7 separate regions of the Homo sapiens genome follow, and regions 1, 2, 3, 4, 5 and 7 are each linked to region 6. The links are contacts of gene promoters, found by promoter capture Hi-C in blood cells and fetal thymus (Javierre and others, 2016). All regions are on one chromosome and are shown on one strand. The core of a region is centred on a gene start or on the middle of the fragment in contact, and the rest is flanking DNA. Distances in the headings are between cores, read along the strand shown.

Region 1 (2,982 bases), core at 230-2,729, 610 kb after region 6:
CAACCACCGCCTCCTGGGTTTAAGCAATTCTCCTGCCTCAGCCTCCCAAGTAGCTGGGACTACAGGTTCCTGCCACCATGCCCAGCTAATTTTTTGTAGTTTTAGTAGAGACGGGGTTTTTCACTGTATTGGCCAGGCTAGTCTCGAACTCCTGACCTCATGATCCGCCTGCCTTGGCCTCCCAAAGTGCTGGGATTACAGGCATGAGCCACCACGCCTGGCCCTCAGGTATTCTTTTACAGCAACACAAAATTGACTAAGACACCAAGGAAAAGCTGGGAGATCCAGAATCCAGTTTGAGACATCAAAGAGACATATGGGCCAGACCAGGATTCTGCCTCCAAATACAGAATGGACACTGAGAACACCATCCCATCTGGCCAGTGACACCTTCCTATTTCCAGGGAACTATCTGAGGTTGGAAGATCAGTGTGCCTCGGTGCTACGGTTTAATGTTTGTCCCCCTAAAAAGCTCAAATTGAAACTTAATCCCCAATGTGGCAGTATTGAGAGGTGGGGCCTTTAAGAGGTGATTAATCCACTCATGGATTCATGGTTTAATTGGTTATGGGAGTGGGGCTGGTGGCTTTATAAGAAGAGGAAGAGAGATCTGAGCTAGCACACTCGGCCCTCTCATCACATGACACCCTGTGCCACCTTGGGACTCTGCAGAGAGTCTCCACCAGTAAGAATGCCACTCCTGATATGACCCCTTGACCTTGGACTGCCTAGCCTCCAGAACTCTAGGAAATACATTTTGTTTCTTATAAACTACACAGTTTCAGGTATTCTGTTATAAGTAACAGAAAGCAGACTAACACACTGGAGAACTGAACAGAGATGGAGAGAAGGAACGAGGACTAGCTCCTTTCTAGGAGTCCCCATTGCCTATAGAAGTCCTTACCTGATAGTCCAGTTCCTTCATGACCTGGTTCCAAGTCACTTTCTCAGCCTTGTCTTCCCAAATCCTTCATAGCCCAGTTTCAAACCACCTCCTTCAGGGAACCACCTTCCTTCCTCCAAATTCTCATTGCCCAAGACATTTATCACTTCTTACTTCCCATGGCAGCTCTCTTGTCTTTATCTTGCCTGTTTTGTCTACCAGCCATCGCTGATCCTTCTCCAAGTCCTCTCACATAGTACCAGATGTTGGCATAAGATCTTTGGGTGGCCCATAGAAGTGTCATCAACAAATTTCAGACAGTGTTTAAGATGGAGCATGGCAGATACAGAGTGAGCATCAGAGAGTCCAGGGGTTAATGGCTCTTGTCCAAGCATACCAAGATCAGACCAGGTGAACCAGAAATGCTCACTGTGGTCAGCACACATGCCCATGCCACAGACACCACACAGATGCTCCTGATTATAAGGGACTCATAGCTTGGCTCTAACCCACCTTGATAAAGACTATGGACCCAGCATCCCAGAGAAAGTAAGCCAGGGCTAAGACAGCTTTGGAGGTAGCAAAGAATAATGGAAATCACATGGTCTTCAGATAGACCTGACTCTGAATATCTCTTTAATTTTGCTCAATATATTGTTAAAATGAATAGATAAGAAAGTATCCTAACAGATACAGGCATCATCATTTCGATGTTACAATTGGAAAAACTGAAACTAAGAATTTAAATGACTCTCATGATGACGCACTGCGATACTCCTTAATTCTCTTGGTCTCCACCCTATCTGTCTAGTCCAAGCCACATCCTTTTCTCCCTCGATGATGACAGTAGTATCCTCCCTGCCCCCCACTTCAGTTGACCCTTTGCTGCTGCCACTCATCTTCTTCATAAGATGCAACTCTCAGCAGGTTACTCCCCATCTCAAAACCCTGCAGTAACTTCCCAGTGCCTTGAGGAGTGTCTCAGGTCAGGATCCCTAGGGAAAAGATTCTGAAGCTGAGATGATGTGTGGGAGATTTAGCGGGGAGTGCTCTCAGGAAGAGCACGTGTAAGGAAGGAAGCAGGATTTGGCAGTGGAGGAAGCTGAACATCTGCAACAGAATATTCAACTGATCCCAGGGGGATTTAAGCTGGTATAGCCCTTCAGCGTTGCCCAAAATCAAAGCAAGGGGGCCAGGTCATTACAGTCATTAGATGTGAAGGAGGCAGCTCCCTTTGTTGGAGAGAAATACCCAGCCAGGATCTGTCAGCTGCTAACACTCCTGGCAGCTCGGGGAATGTGTCCCTGGTCCTAAGGAGTGTCTGAAGGGGTAGCCTAGAATCTACTAGAAGGATGAAGTTCAAGCTCCTCACTGTGACCCACAAAACCCTCATGATCTGGGCTTTGCCAATCTCTCCAGCCTCGTCCACCCCACTCTCTCTCTCTGAGTCTGTGCTCCAGCCTTTTCTGGAACACAGCATGCTCAGGTCCCACCTCCAAGCCTTTGCATTTGCTGTCCCTTCTGCCTGCCTGTGCGGCCTCCCCTGTCACCCAGTTTACCTCTATTCATCCTGCATATCTCAGCTCAAACATCACTTCCTCAAGGACGCCTTCTCTGATTATCAGACCAGACCAGGTTTCCCTGTTATCAGTTCATAAATTCTTCTATTTTTCCTTCAAAATATGTATCACATTTTGTATTTAAGTAATTGTTAGATGCCGGTCTCTGCTGTTAAGATACATGCACTTGGGGGCAGGGACAGGTCTGACTCGCCCACCACAGCATCCCCAGCACTCCATGCAGGGACTCACACATGGAAGACATTCAACAGATACTGTCAAATGCATTAATAAGCACAGGCTTTGAATAAGGTCTCTTTGAGTCTGTCTCCTCTCAGTAAAGTGAGCATAGCAAGTTTCCTTTGCAAGGTTGCTGTATTACATGGTTTATCTAGCAGAGATCTCGGGCTCTCAACAAAGGTTGGCTCCTTTCACTTCATGGGAAAAGACTGTAGGGTGACCAGTCATCCCAGTTTGCCTATGTCTGAGAGGTTTCCTGGGATGTGGAACTTTCAGTGCTAATACCGGGCAGTTTCAGGC
Region 2 (3,053 bases), core at 15-2,514, 520 kb after region 6:
TAGTCAGCCTGGGCTGCCATAACAACAGAAATGGTTTAAACAACAGAAATTAATTTTCTCACTGTTCTGGAGACTGGGAGTCAAAGGTCAAGGTGCTAGCAGGCTTTGTTTCTTCTGAGGCCTCTCTAGATGACCACCTTCTGTGTCCTCACATGGCCATCCCTCTGCGCCTGTCCACCTCTGGGGTCTCTCTGCATGTCTGAGTCTCGTCTTCTTTGAGAACACCTGGTAGGTTGAATTAGGGCCCATCCTAATGGCCTCATTTTTAACGTAATCACCTCTTTAAAGGCCCCGTCTCCAAATACAGTCATATTCTGAGGCACCGGGGGTTCGAACTTCAACATGTGAGTTTGGGGGAACACAGTTCAGTCCCTGTAGATGGGGTGCTCAATAATGATTAGAAACCCCACGGTGCTGGTTAAATCTAACCACTGGTTCATGGGCCAGGTGAAAGGAAACAGACGCAAATCAGGAAGGATTCTGTGTGAGTGCACAGTAGCCAGGTCACTCTTCTGGGAGGGTATTGCAAAGTCGAAACGCGGCATGCTCCACCTCCAGCTCACCACCGTCCAGCCCAGGAAATCCACAGGTCTTTGCAGGTGCCATGCACGCTATGCTGACACAGCACAAGGGACACTTACTGATAGGTCCTGGGAGGACACTGAAGGACAGGACTGCCTCCCGCATCTCCACAGTGACTCTTGGCCACACCATTTGTTACATTTCCTGGGTGCCTTCCTAAACCTCCAAGCTGCCCTGGAATCCCTTGACTCCCATCTACAATATATTATTAGTATAAAGGGAGTCGACGAACTCACAACCACAAGCTGCAAATTCCAGTGACGTCAGGGTCAGGCAGATAACATAAGCAAAGGAAGGAGACAGAGGGACGGACATATGAGAGAGAGTGATGAGGACTGGGGCTAAGTGGAGAGGGACTGCCCTGCCAAAAAGCATTTAAATTCAATGCGTGTTGGAACACCATCCCAGCCAAAAAACAAAACAAAACAAAAAAAAACCAACCAAACACAAACCAACCAACAAAACCAAGTTTGCTGACCAAATGCAGCCTCCAAGCATCTAGTTGGTGATCTCCACTGAGGATATATGGTTAAGAGGACAGGCTTTGAAGACACAGACCTGATTTTGAATTTCACTGTTTCTGTGAAACAGTCTGGTCCAAATGTTAGAGATGTGTGAGAAATATATGAAATAAAGCATGTAGTGCTTAGTGCAGTCCTGACACATAGCAAGTGCTAAGTTAATAGTAGCTATTAATATTACTGTGGTAAATAAGAAAGTAGTGACGTGATTCTAAGCCTTCACTTCTCAGGAACAGTGCGGAGAGTACTCACGTGTGGAGTGGTGGTGCCTCCTGGTGGTCATAATTAGGAACTGCAGAGCAGTGTAGCAGGCCTAACAGAATGATTAGGAGCCAAGAGGGCTAATTTACGGTCAGACAATGGGTTTGACTCCAGTTCTGCCATCTGCGAGTAGGTGACACAGGTCATTCACCTCCATGCTTAGCCTCCATATTCAACTGCCCTACACCTACAACCCCACGGAGTGGCTCTGACAACTTAACAAGACAATATGATATCACTTTTAAGGGCTTTACTGCATACTAAGTGCTACGATCCTAGGATGATCCTGGCATGATGTCAGAACTCAGAACACCGCAGCACCACACTGCCAACATCCTTCTCTCTTGTGAGAAGGTGAAACAGGTGGGTCCCCAGTTGTTACTTATTTTTTCTTTTATTGGGTGGCAATGAGAAGGGGTTACTCTGGACCGGAGCCCCTGACCAGAAAAATAGATCTGCTGTATCACCTGAAATTCACTGGAGCAAAATATTCCTTTGAGTTATGCATTGCTCTATCCAGACTTCTCTTTTAAACCGGAAGTTCCCCCAGAAGGGTGACTGTATTAGTTCCAAATACCCACATGAGCATGAGTTTATCAGCTGCTCCCCTCCCTGACAGGAGGAGGGGACTGGGGGACACTTTGTGCTGTCATTACCTCCGTTTGGGACCCCTGCCCCAGTCACAGCCTTCTGCCCACTTGCCATTGCTGGCCTACAGAGCTGGCTTCCTGCCTGCCTGTGATGGGAGACCCTGCCTTCAAGCTGGCTGAGTTGTCCCCAGGAGGTAGAGAACCAGAGGCCAGGCCTGACCTCAGACTGCAGGGTCCCCTCTCCCACGGCCCTCTGGGGAAGCTCCCCGCACCCAGGCCTCCTCAGCCCTGCCCCTCCTCCCCAGGTCCTGAGCTCTTCTTCCAGCAAACAGCGGCAGCATCTGCCTGGAAACACAGGAAAGGTGCCTCCACTTGTATCCTTTCCTGCCGCCAGATGGAGAAATAAAAACAGGAATAACAGATCCCACTGCCAGAGCACGTGTGCTGGGGCCTCTGCTGGGCACTGCAGACCCATTGGCTCATTTCATCATCTCGCCAACCCCATGTGATAGATGCAATGATTGTTCACATTTCACAGATGAGAAAACTGAGGCTCAGAAGGGTGAGTGAGTTGCCGAAGGTCACAGAGCTTGACAGCGGGGGAGCCTGGGTGGGAACCAGGCAGACCAATGCCTGACCCTTCACCATGGTGCAATGTTTACCCAATGGGAAGCCATCCCTTCCACCTCCAAATCCAAGAGGCTGCTGCTGACCAAGATCCAGCCCATTACCCTACTGTCAGATTGATCACATGAGCATGAATTATCAAACTGACACTCTGACCCACCCTGACAAATGTCACTGGCCAAATGTGTGACTGGTCATAACTGACAGATGGACAGACATTTGGCTTGGGAAAGCTAGGACCTGGCTAATGTTTGCTTTTAAAAGATCTTAATTTTTTTTTTCATTTTAAATTGAGGTATAATTTACAGCCTCTAAAATGCCCACATTTTAGATTGATGTACAGTTGATGTGGTTTTGTTTTCTTGTTTTTGAGATGGAGGGTTGCGTCTTGCTCTGTTGCCCAGGCTGGAACGTAGTGGCGTGATGTTGGCTCACTGCAACCTCCACCTCCTGGGGTCAAGGGATTCTCCTG
Region 3 (2,900 bases), core at 29-2,528, 560 kb after region 6:
CCAGGCATGGTTCTAAAGGAGTTATGAAGATTATCTCATATGCTCATTCTAATGCCTTAGGAAGCTGGTGCTGTTATTATTATCCCTATTTTACAGAAAAGAAAATTGAAGTGCAAACAGGTTAAGCAATTTGCCCAAGGTCACAGAGTCCTGAAGTGCAGGAACTGGGATTTTGAACCCAGGCAACGTAACTCTAGGGCAGTGGTGTCCAATCTTTTGGCTTCCATGGGCCAGAAGAAGAAGAATTGTCATGGACCACACAGAAAATACACTAACACTAACGATAGCTGATAAGCTTAAAAAAAACAAATCACAAAAAAAATCCCATAACATTTTAATAGAGTTTACGAATTCGTGTTGGGCCACATTCAAAGCTGTCCTGGGCTGCATGGGGCCCATGGGCAAGGGTTAGACAAGCTTGCTCTATACCAGTAGCTGAGCATGTGCCAGAGCCTGTGCCAGGAGCTGAGCATGGCCAGGAACTGAGGACAGAGACTCTGTGGACCAGAAAGGCTACTGTCAGATGAGGGAGCTGGCTAGTAAACAGACACAAAAACTATTTAATAAAATGCAATTAAATAAAAAGTACCTAATTATAATTGTGAAATATGCCGTGAAGGAGGAGTAGAGAATACAATGAAAATGCAGGACAGAAAGACTTAATGTTGATGGGTGGTGGAGGTGGGCTGGTCAGGAAAGGATTCCTTGAGGAAGTTGACATTTGAGTTGAGACTTGAAGAAACACATACGTTAGGCCCCTAAGAGGTGGGCGGGTCAATGAGCCAGGTAGACAGAAGGGCATGTGCAAAGACTCTGAGACTGAGGAAGAGCTTTGTGCCTTCGAGGAGCTGCAAAGCCAAGTCAGAGTGTCCACTCTCTACAGATGAGTTAATTCCCTGGGGAGCTGATGTGTGTGTGTCTTTATCTCAGTCTACAGCAGAGAACTGGGCGCACGGTAAGGGGGATAAATTCCCTTAAGCTTCTACTAGGCACCAGGGCTTTTATCCCTTACAAACCTCAAAACTGTGAGGTAGTGAGGTAGTGTTTACCGGTCCCTACTTCACAGGTGGGGAAACTGAGGTTCAGAAAGGTGTCTTGCTCAAGGAAACAAAATAGGAGTTAACATTTACAAAGCACTTAGTATATGCCAAGGGCTTTACAGAAATTAACTTAACCCCCCAATAACTCTACAGGGTAGATGTTATTCCTATCATCCCTCTCTACAGAGGAGACATCCAAGGCAAAGGAGTATTCTAAAGAACCCAAGCCAGCATGGTGGCTCGTGCTTGTAATCCCAGCACTTTGGGAGGCTGAGGCAGGAAGATCACTTGAGCTCAGGAGTTCAAGACCAGCCTAAGCAACATACCAAGACCTTGTCTCTACTAACAATTAAAAAAAAAAAATTAGCCAGGTGTGGTGGCGCACACCTGTAGTCCCAGCTACTCAGGAGGCTGAGGTCAGCGGGGGGATTGCTTGAGCCCAGGAGATCGAGGCTGCAGTGAGCTATTATCACACCATTGCACTCCAGCCTGGGCAACTGAGCAAGACTGCATCTCAGAAAGAAAAAAAGAATTCACCCAAGCTTACATAGCTAGTAAGTACCAGAGTAAGGATTCAAACCAAAGCATTCTGGGATCTAGAGTCTGTATCCTAACCACAGGCTCAATTTCCATTCAATAACAAGCAGCAGAGTAAGATTCTAAACCTGGAGCTGTCTGATGTCCAAGCCCCTGCCTCTCCACTATGCCATATTGCCATAGTAATGCTTACTGAATGAATACATGGCTGAAGGCACGCATGCAGGCGTGCACATATGTAGGGGCAAGGAGACAGCCTAGGGAAGAGTTAAGAGCACACAGTTTTAGAATTAACAGGCCTGGATTCCAATTTGGGCTCTGCCAAGGCCAGGGACAGAATGAGATGACCGAGGCACTCGCCTCAGGGGCAAAATTTATGGGGTTGCCAAAAAACTCAGTGATCAAGAGGAATCACATTTTAATGCAATATTTTAAAAGTCTAAATTAATGCAAAAATAAATCCTTGATGAACAACCTATGAAGAAAATTTTAAATAAAGCCTGGATTGGACCCTGCACTTGGATCCCTCACTTACTCACTCACCTCACCCCACTGGGAGTCTAGGACCTTGGGTGCATGCATGGCTTTACCTCTCTGTGCCTCAGTTTCTTCATCTGTAAAGTGGAGATAGTAATTCTCCCCTCCTGAAGTTGCCGTGAAAACTAAGTGAGAGGCAACGCGTGAAAGTGTTTGGTCTTGATGATGACGATGATGGGGTGTTGGTGGCGGTGGTGAAAGAGGAGGAGGAGAATGACATCTGTACATCAAAACTGAGTGTGCTACATGCATATCCCCAGGCTTATTTTTGCCTGCACGTGAGTATGTGTGAGACAAAGTTCTAAACTTTTTAGAGCCACTTCTCTGGGCACATGAAACCCCAGGAGGGAGGAGGAGGGAAAGGGCTGGGCAAGCCTTCAAACTGAGAAAATGCCCTTTTTTTGGTCATGTGAGCAGAAAGATGCCCACTTTCTGGTGCCTTTGGAAGCTGGGTTGAGGACTCCTCAGGCAGGAAAGGCAGCCTCTCCCCACAGCCCTGGAAGATTCTGGGGGACCCACTGTGCACAGCCAGAACAGGGGCGGCCACACAGCCCAGGGCAATGAGGGCTGCTGTGCTGGAAGCAAGCATACTCCCTGTCCATCTCCAACCACCCGGCCCGCTGCATCCTATCAGCCCTTCTCCCCTGTCCCATGCTCCCAATCTCTGATCCCAGCCTTCAGGCCAGGAATCCCGGTGTTCTTCAGCACCCTCCCTCCCCACCTCCTTCCACATCCACAGCCCATCAATCACCAACACTGGTCTCTCCGGCTCCCTTTATAACTCTT
Region 4 (2,735 bases), core at 209-2,708, 540 kb after region 6:
TTGCCTGGTCCAAACCCTATTCTCCTGCCTCAGTTCAATCTGTCAATATGAAGGTTGAAAATACATCATTAAATGAGCATAGCTGTGGGCCAATAGAACTTTATTCATAACACTGAAATGTGAATTTTACATGATTTTTCACATCATGAACTAGTCTTCCTTTGTTTCCCACCCTAACCATTTAAAACAGTAAAAACCAGCTGGGCATGGTGGCTCATGCCTTTAACCCCAGTACTTTGGGAGGCCAAGGTGGGCGGATCACTTGAGGCCAGGAGTTCGAGACCAGCCTGGCCAACATGGTGAAACCCTGTCTTTACTAAAAATACAAAAATTATCTGGGCATGATGACTCATGCCTGTGATCCCAGCTACTCAGGAGGCTGGGGCAGGAGAAGTGCTTGAACCCGGGAGCTGGAGGTTGCAGTGAGCCAAGATCCCACCACTGCACTCCAGCCTGGGTGACAGAGTGATACTCTGTTTCAAAAATACATACATACATACATACATACATACATACATACATACATACATATGTAAAAACTGTTCTTAGCTCAAAGACCAAAAAAAAAAACAAATCAGACATCGGGCCAGATTTTGCCCACCAGCCATGTTTTGCCAGCCTCTGATATTCACAAAGGGCTGTCTTCTGTCTGCTGAGTGTGGCGTTATTTGGCTCAATACCATGGACCTGAAGCAGGCAGGACTCAAATCTCTGCAGCTGGGAGAGTTTTTAAATGCAGCTACAAAGTTTTCCTGAATATTAGATATATTTGCAAGTTGCCAGCTTGTTAGATAAGCACTCACAGGGCGTTCTGCTCGCTGCTAGTTTGCCCTGATCAACACTTTTATGTCGTGACCTATAAGAAAGCTCAGAGAACCTAGTGGCCAGGAATAGCAAAGGAAAATAGTTACGAGAGGAGGTAATTACCCTCTCTACCACCAAGAGATAGAGGATGGAGGGTGGAGGTTAAAAGGGTGGGCCCTGGAGTCACGGTAAATTACTCGGGGTAAATCATGTAAATTTTCTGGCCACCAGTTTCCTCATCTGCATAATAGGGATGATGATAGTGTCTGTCTAATTATATCGTTGATAGGATTACATGTTATCATGCATTTAAAAGACTTAGTGTCTGCTTGTTAGTTTTTAAGTGGTTGGTTTTCACTACCTCCACTATTAACTACCCTGGCATAAAAAAGCAAAAGGAAAAAGAAAGGCAATTTGTACAATTAACTCCTAAAGAAGGTGAAAGAGTTAGTGGAAGAGATGAGAAAACTTTAATAACAAATAAATAAGAACTTTCAAGAAAATGCAATTTGGGTTTGATGACTTTCTGGAAGTAAAATGTTTGAAAAATTAAAAGAAATATCCAATAGTTGGACTGGAATAAATGGGAATCATGGTATAGTAAGTGATAGGACATCTCCTCATAGGGATGAAAGAACAGGTAGACCAGGGGAAGGGAGGACATTTAGGAGGCAGGTGCAAAACACCCCACGAGAATCCAGGCTGCAGGGAAATACAGAATTAGAAGAGTTGGACAATTAATCCTATTTGAGAGGATAAGTTCAATGAGCTGAAGACTGATTTTTTTTTTTTTTTTTTTGAGACAGGGTCTTGCTCTGTTACCCAGGCTGGAGTGCAGTGGTGCAATCTCGGTTCACTGCAACCTCTGCCTCCAGGTTCAAGCACTTCTGCCTCAGATTTCCAAGTAGCTGGGTTTACAGGTGCACCACCTGTAATATGCCACCGCACCTGGCTAATTTTCACATTTTTAGTAGAGATAGGGTTTCACAATGTTGGTCAGGCTGGTCTCGAACTCCTGACCTCAAGTGATCTGCCCACCTCCCAAAGTGCTGGGATTAGAGGCACGAGCCACTGCACCTGGCCGGAAGTCTCAAATTTTGACACCGAAAGAGCACGTTGTTTCCAGGACTGGATTAATTCCTAAAGAACTCACCTTAGACACATGCTCTGTTTAAATTCTGAAGACTGAATCTTAGGAGAAAATCTGACAAGACTTCAGAGGGAAAGAAAAGAAGAGTTTACTCACAAAACTAAAAGAATAAGTAATGGGGAAAGGACTCCCTATTGAATAAATGGTGCTGGAATAACTGACTAATCGTATGCAAAAGATTGAAACTGGACCCCTTTCTTACACTGTATACAAAAATCAACTCAAGATGGATTAAAGACTTAAATGTAAAACCTAAAACTATAAAAACCCAGGAAGATAACCTGGGAAATATCATTCTGTACATAGCTTCTCGCAAAGATTTCATGTTGAAGACTCCAAAAACAATTGCAACAAAAACAGAAATTGACAAATGGGACCTAATCAAACTAAAGAGCTCTGTACAGCAAAAAGATATTGTCAACAGAGTAAATGGAAAACCTACAGAATGGGAGAAAATATCTGCAAACTATACCTCCAACAAAAGTCTAATATCCAGAAACTATACGGAACTTAAACAAATTAACAAGCAAAAAACAACCCCGTTAAAAAGTGGGCAAAAGATATGAACATTTTTCAAAAGAAGACATACACATGGCCAGCAAGCATATGAAAAAATGCTCACCATTACTAATCACTAGAGAAATGTAAATCAAAACCACAATGAGATACCATTTCACACCAATCAGAATGGTTATTATTAAAAAGTCAAAAAATAACAGATGCTGGAGAGGTTGCAGAGAAAAGAGAATACTTATACACTGCTGGTGGGAATGTAAATTAG
Region 5 (2,700 bases), core at 64-2,563, 580 kb after region 6:
ATTCTCCTGCCTTGGCCCCCTCAAAGTGCTGGGATTACAGGCATGAGCCACTGCACCTGGCCAAGATTTTAATAAGCAACTGAGGGATGGGGTTTAATGATATTTTGCTTCACTGTATTCTTTTTCTTCTTCTTTTTCTTTTTTTTGGCTAACTTTTTCTAATCTAATACTAGATTTGTATTTATGGTAATGATCTAAAGTTTCTTTATAAGAATAAATTTAGATTTAAGAAAGTTAAAATGTTTTTTAAATAGTAAGGGGATCCAGACAGCATGTGGACACGGCGCGGCTCAGGAAGGTATGGCAGTGACTGGCATTTGGCAATCGCTGCCTTGCCCCAGCTGCCACACCGCTGTGCCTTTGCCTCGCCTCGTCCTCCTGTTTGCTCTTCCATGCTGACCTCACTGGGCTGCCCTGGACTCCCTCTGAGCTAAAGTCATCTCCCAAAGGATCCACAGTAACAATAGCTGCCCATGACTGGGACGTGGGAAAGGCCAAGCAAGGAAGTGAATCTGGGCCGGCTTTTTTCCCCCCAAGGACAAGGCAAGGAGAGCTCAGTGCTCCAGGAAATGGAGAACCACAGAGGGGCAGGGACTTGCCCGGGGTCATTCAGCAAGTCAGTGGCAGAGGCCTTCCCACCCTAAAACAATGTGGACGGGAAGATAAAATGGGACAGCCACCACAGAGAGCCTTTGATCCAGCAACTGCGAGTTGGGGGAATTTATTCTAGAGATATACCAACCCATGGGTGGAAATATTGATCTAACACAGCAAATATCTGGAAACTACCCAAACATCCATGTACAACAATGGGGACCTGATTCAGTAAATTGTGGCACAGCTATATAATGGAATTCTACACAAGCATTTAGAAACTGATCAAGTTCTGTACTTGGAAAAACATGAATAGATCTCCAATATATACACAGCAAAGAAAAAAAAGCAAGATTCCAAACAGTATGTATATGCTACAGTATAATATGCTACTTTTTGTGTAAGAAAGAGAAGAACAGGAATCTATACATTTGTTTATATTAGGTTGAACAGTATGAAATTGCCATTTTATAGGCCAAACCTGGTCAAATATTAGCAATTTCATATTTTCCATCTTAATAGAAAGTAACTGGAAGGAAAGGAAAGAAACTACAAACAAGAGTTGCCTATGGAGGTGGCAACAAGATGGGGACAGGAAAAGGAGATGGACTCTTTATAGTAATACTTTTCTAACTGTTGGGTTTTGAACCAAATGAATGTATGATTTTTTTTTTAATACAGAGTCTCACTCTGTCACCCAGGCTGGAGTGCAGTGGTGCAATCTTGGCTCACTGCAACCTCTGCCTCCTGGGTTCAAGTGATTCTCCTGCCTCAGCCTCCCGAGTAGCTGGGACTACAGGCGCGTGCCACCTTGCCCAGCTAATTTTCTGTATTTTTAGTAGAGATGGGGTTTCACCGTGTTAGGCAGGCTGGTCTCAATCTCCTGACCTCGTGATCTGCCCGCCTCGGCCTCCCAAAGTGCTAGGATTACAGGCATGAGCCACTGCGCCTGGCCGAGATTTTATTTTTTTTTAATAAAGGAAAACACCAGTAGGGCCTCTTAGGGCAGGCTTTCTGCAACATGACACCTGTCTTTATATCCATCCCAGCTGGGTGGTCAGGGAGAAACTGTGCAGGCCTGAGCCCAGGGGGCACCCCAGTTTAGCTTCTGACAAATCCCTTCTAGAGAACCTGCTCTGTGGCATTTCCCACCCTCCACGTGGTGGGTCAGAGCTCCAGGGGCCTCCACCCCTTGGGCCAGGCTTCTGGCAAAGCTACAGCAGGTCCTATGGGATGATGGTTTTGGCACCAGGCTGCCATGACTTTGTAGGAGCACCCCCTTGCCAGACAGGGCCACACGAAGCCAGGGCTGATGGGAAAAGCACTTCAGCAGCAATGCAATAGGTCCCCACAAGGATACGGCTTGGCCAAAGGTAGCTCTGAAAACGCATTCCCACCGCTGCCCCTCCCTCCTATCTGGTCCTATGGCACATGTCCTCTAGCAGCCTAAGGAAAGAGGTTCTCCCTGGGGTGATCGCTGGGATTATGGAAACACCTGGGAGATCCCCACCGAGATCTCACCCTTCAATAACACCAAGAAGAATCACTGAAGCAAGGGTAATCGTAGAATAATTTTTTTAAGCTGCCACTATTGAATGACTGTGGTGTACAGTATTTACACAGGTTATATCTCATTTTACCCTCAGTGGTAAGTACTATATCAATTTCTACCACCTCCCACCGTTGGAGAAACTGAGGCTCAGGAAAGTGACATGCCCAAGGAACGAGTGTTATCTAACCCCAAAGCCTGTGCTCTTGACCGTGAATGATGTTTGTGCCTCTGTCTCTCCATCTGAAAGATGGAGAAGGAGGAGACATGAAAACAGAGGTGCAGTGAAGGGGCTAGAGATGTGGTGACCAGGGAAGACTCGGGATATTAAGGTCACAGTCTTCAAACCTCTGCAAGGATGTTGAGACAGACATTGCTAGCTGCTCACCAAATATCCATTCTCTCCCTCTTTCCCACTAACGGAAGCCTAATTTGTTCAGGGAAGCAACGCATCCGGCTAAAAATATTCACCTTCCCATTCTCTACATCTGGGGAAGGTCTTCACTTCTGCATGGAGAGAAGCTGTTGCATTTGGACCTCCGCTGCCTGGAATGCAG
Region 6 (3,039 bases), core at 349-2,848:
CTTTAGTTAACAGCAGCTGCCTCTGGAAATGAGATTGAAGATGGGCTGGAGGGAAAGCTTTTACTTTTTATTTGACATTCTTCTGTAAGTTGGAATTATTTGATACACTTTATGCAACCAATACCAGTATGTGGCGTGTTTGGGGGTTTTTTAAGCAGCTCTGGAAGAGCAGAGGAGAGGGAGCTTGGTGGCACAGCAGCAGCAGCAGCAGGAGCTCTGGAAAGGGCAGGACCTTGTGCGCTGCCCTGATTTGCTCTGTGCACTTGGGCCAGCTACCTCCCCTATCTGGACCAGGGCCAGACACATGCTGCTATGTGTGTTGGTGGAGGTGGGGTGTGTGGCCATGCAGGGCTCCTCCGGAGCACAGCAGAGCAGCCGGTGTTTAAGGCACCAGAATTACCAGAAAGTTGTTGACATTTTAATGGAAAGGCAATGGAGGAAGCAGTGTGAAAGTCAGCCTGCTCAGGAGGGGTCACTGGGCAGAGCTTTCCTTACCTGTCCAGGGGTCCAGGCCCTGCCTGTGCCCTGAGTTAGAACCCAGGGCCGGCCAGGCGCGGTGGCTCACGCCTGTAATCCCAGCACTTTGGGAGGCCGAGGCGGGCAGATCACAAGGTCAGGAGATCGATACCGTCCTGGCTAATGCAGTGAAACCCCATCTCTACTAAAAATACAAAAATTAGCTGGGCGTGGTGGTGGGCGCCTGTAGTCCCAGCTACTCGGGAGGTTGAGGCCGGAGAATGGCGTGAACCTGGGAGGCGGAGCTTGCAGTGAGCTGAGATCACGCCACTGCACTCCAGCCTGGGTGACAGAGCGAGACTCTGTCTCAAAGAAAAAAAAAAAAGAACCCAGGGCCTGGGAAGCTTTGGGTCAACCCCCGAGAAAGCCTTCCCTGTTCTCCAGGGTGAACTCATCTCTGGTTCCTGAGCCTCAAATCTCTGAAGGGCAGAGTGGGGCATAGGTTTCAACTCAGCTGTGATTCTCCCAGAACGGTGCCAGGGCAGTGCTTGGTCGGGTAGGCTGTGGGTGGCAGTCTTCGGCTTAACACAAGAAATTGCCAGAGGCTGGCTCAGGGGGAAATGAGCTGCCCAGTCCTGGAAGTTTCCATGAAATGACTGAACATAGGGGCTGGTGGCCCCCATTAGGGAAGGGGTGGAGGAGGGTGTTGTGTGAGACCAACCTTTCAGTTGCTGGTTCACTAGGTTCCAAGCGAAAGGGAAGATGACTCAGCGGAGGGAATCAGGGAAGGCTGTGTAGGAGTCAGCACTTAAGCTGGACCTTGAGAGAGTGCGGCAGTTCCAGTGTTGAAAGGGACTTCAGAAACCGTCCCTCCAGCAGGACACACCATCCGTCACCAATTCACATGAGGCTCAGGGAGCTGAAGTCAGTTGCCCATGGTCACATAACAAGTTGTGCTTTAAAAAATTCAGAGAGTCCCCCAGGCAGGGCCCATCCAGGAGCCAGTGTGTGCAGCCAGCTTGGTAATTCAGGTCCAGTGGTTAATTAGTAACTGGAAGGCCCCGAAGCCAGCTTCCAGCAGGCAGGGCTGGGAGGTTGAACTTGAGCCGGTTTGGGAGCCAGGAGCGAGTGGGTGACAGGTCATTCCTGACTGGGAAGGTTGCTTGACAAGTCAGGATTGTGCCTCCAGTCAGAAGGACCATGAAGAGAGAGAAGAGGGCAGAGCCGTGCATGGGGCTGCTCCCCAGGACCTGAGCAGGAACCTGGAGTTTTCAGGTGAGAGGCTCACCTGTGAGCAGGATACCTGCCTGCTCGCCTATTGGTCTCCAGATTGACTAGTTACCTAGCTAACATCTTTCCTAGTACCTGTTTACTTTCTTTCCTTCCTTTCTTCCTTGGCGACTTCTTTCCCTTCTCCCTCCTTCCTTTCCTTCCTTCCCTCCCAACTATCTGCTTTCTCAGCTGCCTAATTTTCTTCCTCCTTAACTAACCAACTTACATCCTCACTTCCTTCCCACTGACTTCATTTTTTCCTTTTCTAGCTTTCTATTGTCTTCCTGAAATTCCAGGCCGTGGGCTTTGCAGTCAGATGGCCTGGGTTCAAATCCTGGTTATGTCATTTATTAACTGTCTTGATCATGTCACTTCCCTGTCCTTGCCTCAGTTTTCTCCTCCTTGAAACAGGGACGATGATAGTTCCTAACCCGTGGGGTTGTGGGAACAAAATAAGATCAAGTTGGCACTTGAACTGGGCAGGCGTGTAAATGAACAAGTTACAGTGAAGACAGGGACAGCAGCAGGAGAGGGTGCATGGGATCGGAGGGTCATCTGGCTTCCAGGAAAGGCAATGAGAACAGGTGAAAAGGTGAGCTGGAAAGACCAGGTTTGTTGGGGAATGTTCCAAGGAGAGAGAACTGTGTGACACTGTCCCACCCCCACACCCCATTTGGCAGGGCCAGGGAGCTGTAAGCAGGTCCATGTAACAGTGGGACAGAGGGAGGCAAGTCTGGGCTGTGGCAAGTTAGGAAAGGGACAGGCTTGAGGACTCATGGAGGGGCTTGAGTGGGAGTTTGCGGAGTCTGAAGAGTTAGGAGAATATATTGATGTCCAGCTTCTGGCCAGAAAATTAGAACACCGTGGTGCGAGAGAGAAGAAAGCCTTAGGAACTGAGGGCTGCTTAGGCATGGGGGTCACAGTCAAGGTGATGGGGGAGGGTGTGATGGGCCATGGGCATGCCAGGTTCCCACCAGGAACTCAGTACTTGAATATTAACTCAACAGCAATATCTTGAGAAGCTTTACACAATAGTACAAAGATAAAAGTTAAAATAACCGGCCGGGTACAGTGGCTCACACCCGTAATCCTAACACTTTGGGAGGCCGAGGCAGGCGGATCACCTGAGGTCAGGAGTTTGAGACCAGCCTAGCCAACATGGTGGAACCTCGTCTCGACTAAAAATACAAAAATTAGCCGAGCGTCGTGACACATGCCCGTAATCCCAGCTATTTGGGAGGCTGAGACAGGAGAATTGCTTGAACCCAGGAGGCGGAGGTTGCAGTGAGCAGAGATTGCGCCACTGCACTC
Region 7 (2,891 bases), core at 136-2,635, 640 kb after region 6:
GTTAAATAAAGGCATGTGGAAATCAGGATGTTACTTTTTTGGAACATCAGAGTGAGACTTAATCCCTCAATCCACAAACCAAATCCATTTTCCTAGATGTATCAGAGAAAGGAGATTAGTTTGGTACATCACATTCACAAAAGAACGTCAAATATCCCAATGAGGGACCCTAATGTTAAAGTTGGGCCAATTAGGTCTGAGCAGAGTAATTTTTAACTTCAAGATTCATGTTTTGAGGAAGATTTTGCTGAGATGTAGATAACTTACAACTTATTCCCACAAATCTGGAATGCCTAAACTTTCATGCAAGTTGGATTTTGAGTTACTAGGTCATTGGAACTTTGTGCTTTTCAATACTTACACCCTCCTAACACCTTCATATGAAAAGAATACGTATCATCATTCTCTGGTGACTGCTGCACTAATATACAGCACTAAGTAAATAACCAGAGCGCTGGCTTGAAAAACAAACTAAAAGGGATTTAAAGGCTTAAGAACTCGCCTTAATTCAAAGAACATGTTAAGCCCATGTTAAGCCCACTTAACATGAACTTGAATAGCTCACTACTTAATTACAATAGCTCCACTCCTCTACAGCTTTTATTTTATTTTTGAGACGGAGTCTCGCTCTGTTGCCCAGGCTGGAGTGCAGTGGCGCAATCTTGGCTCACTGCAAGCTCCGCCTCCTGGGTTCACACCATTCTCCTGCCTCAGCCTCTGAGCAGCTGGGACTACAGGCGCCAGCCACCACGCCCGGCTAATTTTTTGTATTTTTAGTAGAGACGGGGTTTCACCGCGTTAGCCAGGATGGTCTCGATCTCCTGACCTTGTGTTCCGCCCGCCTCGGCCTCCCAAAGTGCTGGGATTAAAGGCGTGAGCCACCGTGCCCGGCCCAGTTTTAATTTTTTTAAAGGTGAGCCAAAACATTAGTTGTGGAGGTGAAAGCGGGGTGGTACCTTTACAACCAGAAGCTTAAATTTTGGTCCTGGAATCCCTGAGGCCCTTTTAGGAAATCTGAGGTCAAAATTATTTACATGGTACTAAAACATTACAGGTTGAGGGTCCCTAATCTGAAATGCTTCAAAATCCAGAACTTTTTGAGCACTGACATGAGGAGCAAAGGACATGCTCATTGGAGCAGTTTGGCTTTTAGGATTATGGAAGCTGAACTGATAAGCATGTAATGCAAATCTTTCAAAATCTAAAAAAAATCTGAGATCCGAAACACTTCTGGTCCCAAGCATTTCATATAAGGAATATTCAACCTGTAGTTGCCTTTTTCACATTCATTCTCCCAAGTGTACAAAAGTTTGCCAGAGACCACACAATATGCGATATCCCAGAGACTGAATGCAGAAACATATGAGAATCTGTCTTCTAATTAAGCCAAACATTAAAAAAGATTTGCAAAAAGGTAGAACAATGCCACTCTTCTATTTTTTGTTTTGGAAAAGCTATTTTTCATTCAAAAATTTTGTTAGCTTGTAATGAGTTTTTAAATATTTAAAAAAATCTTAGTTTTAATTTCTAACATGGTAAATATTTATATCCTTTTGGAGATTATAACAAAACCTTTTGGGTCCTGAATTTGTCAGTGTAAAGGAAGTGCTTACAAAAAGTTTGAGAATTTCTGCCTTAGATATACTAAATAGTGTACCTTCTGTCACCATTATCAGGAAATATCTGTCACAGCTTCTAGAACTGTGATAAGGTATTTTGCTCCCTTGCTTTAACCACAGCCTTCAGATGTCACTAAATCCACACCAAACCAATGACCAGCAGAGGACTCCCACTACTACTTAAGCTTAGGGTTTTTCTAGTAAACACCCTTCCCCTCTCCCCCAAGTACAAATCACCTATTTGTTGAAGCCCACATCCCATTATCATGAATCAACCACAGCCAGCGCAGTTTTAGTAAATAGTATAAATGTATTTTGTAATTTAAACAAAAGCTTCTGTTAACATTATTGCTAACATGGCTAGACACTGTCACTAAATTTGGTGGCTCTGCTCAGGATGGTCTGAACACATGCAACATTCTTTTTGGAGCCACCTGAAAAACAAGGATTCATCATCCAGCTGAAACCGAAGACAGATTTTTTTTTTACCAAACTGGAGGGAATTTTGAAATGGCTGACCAAATCTGTGGGATACAGAATGTACAAAATTCTCTTTTAGGGTTGCTGGGGTGACAGGGCAGCTCAAAGAGGTAACCATCTATAACATCTGAAACTGAGGTATGAGACCTGTATTACAACTGATAACAAAAAAAAAAAAAAAAAACCGCCATATATTTAAAATGCTGGAGATGGTGAAGACACACACTCGTTTCAAATATTACACCCCCTCCCTCCAACTGAAGCAGCCCATTCCAAGCTGCTTACTTGAAACTGCATGTAACATGTCTTAGGATGAATAGCACCAGCAGGGGCTTATTTAGTGATGGTTAATAACTCTCTCAAACAATAGAGGGCAGGCCAGCTAGTTTATTCAAATTGAATCTAAACCTTAGATCTCTGGCTTAACAATAACAAGAGAAACCTTTATAGACACAATATATCTTGCATTAAATCAGAGACGGTTTAAATCAGTCTTGTAACTTCTAATATTCTGGGCTGGCAACTACAGCATGACAAATGTTTAGTGCAGTTACAAAATCACATTTTACTTTCCTTGGCTAGCAAACCTTAAACAAATCTGAAAAATGCACTGTTTTACAAAGGCTTTTACCATATACCCACTGCTGCCAGTCTCAAGTAATTATGGTTTCTTCATCCCCCAGGAACATTTCTAAATAAGGGGGATTTTTCTTTGATCTGCTCGCCTTGAAGTGTATGTAAGAACTCAAGAGAGTAAGTTGAAAGAATGAAGATTAACTGAGATGCCAAGAA

What was found. Contacts are between HindIII fragments. The CHiCAGO score rates a contact against its expected background, and 5 or more counts as called.
Region 1: a fragment that was not itself captured here is called in contact with the fragment with the promoter of SGK2 in region 6 in 3 of 17 cell types (naive CD8 T cells, total CD8 T cells and fetal thymus); the score reaches 6.0 in naive CD8 T cells.
Region 2: a contact is called between a fragment that was not itself captured here and the fragment with the promoter of SGK2 in region 6, in 4 of 17 cell types (M1 macrophages, endothelial precursors, M0 macrophages and 1 more). The highest score is 9.5, in M1 macrophages.
Region 3: a fragment that was not itself captured here is called in contact with the fragment with the promoter of SGK2 in region 6 in 1 of 17 cell types (M0 macrophages); the score reaches 5.1 in M0 macrophages.
Region 4: a fragment that was not itself captured here is called in contact with the fragment with the promoter of SGK2 in region 6 in 14 of 17 cell types (M1 macrophages, endothelial precursors, activated CD4 T cells and 11 more); the score reaches 9.8 in M1 macrophages.
Region 5: a contact is called between a fragment that was not itself captured here and the fragment with the promoter of SGK2 in region 6, in 1 of 17 cell types (naive CD8 T cells). The highest score is 5.5, in naive CD8 T cells.
Region 7: a fragment that was not itself captured here is called in contact with the fragment with the promoter of SGK2 in region 6 in 3 of 17 cell types (monocytes, endothelial precursors and total CD8 T cells); the score reaches 6.7 in monocytes.

The regions. Positions count from the first base shown.
Region 1 is chr20:44,169,255-44,172,236 of GRCh38, forward strand. The region is part of intron 1 of JPH2 (junctophilin 2); the gene reads right to left. Among named protein-coding and RNA genes, the nearest start is that of JPH2, 16 kb to the right of the region's middle. The HindIII fragment of the contact is 6,904 bases long and covers 1-2,982 here.
Region 2 is chr20:44,079,557-44,082,609 of GRCh38, forward strand. No RefSeq gene overlaps it. Among named protein-coding and RNA genes, the nearest start is that of JPH2, 110 kb to the right of the region's middle. The HindIII fragment of the contact is 6,228 bases long and covers 1-3,053 here.
Region 3 is chr20:44,120,441-44,123,340 of GRCh38, forward strand. All of the region lies in intron 2 of JPH2 (junctophilin 2), which reads right to left. Among named protein-coding and RNA genes, the nearest start is that of JPH2, 65 kb to the right of the region's middle. The HindIII fragment of the contact is 603 bases long and covers 978-1,580 here.
Region 4 is chr20:44,099,094-44,101,828 of GRCh38, forward strand. No RefSeq gene overlaps it. Among named protein-coding and RNA genes, the nearest start is that of JPH2, 87 kb to the right of the region's middle. The HindIII fragment of the contact is 3,805 bases long and covers 1-2,735 here.
Region 5 is chr20:44,138,622-44,141,321 of GRCh38, forward strand. All of the region lies in intron 2 of JPH2 (junctophilin 2), which reads right to left. Among named protein-coding and RNA genes, the nearest start is that of JPH2, 47 kb to the right of the region's middle. The HindIII fragment of the contact is 8,658 bases long and covers 1-2,700 here.
Region 6 is chr20:43,557,429-43,560,467 of GRCh38, forward strand. SGK2 (serum/glucocorticoid regulated kinase 2) reads left to right here and starts at 1,599. Exons shown (of 13, transcript NM_170693.3): 1 at 1,599-1,731. The HindIII fragment of the contact is 1,890 bases long and covers 859-2,748 here.
Region 7 is chr20:44,194,030-44,196,920 of GRCh38, forward strand. OSER1 (oxidative stress responsive serine rich 1) reads right to left here. Exons shown (of 4, transcript NM_016470.8): 4 at 1,910-2,891. Among named protein-coding and RNA genes, the nearest start is that of JPH2, 8.3 kb to the left of the region's middle. The HindIII fragment of the contact is 833 bases long and covers 970-1,802 here.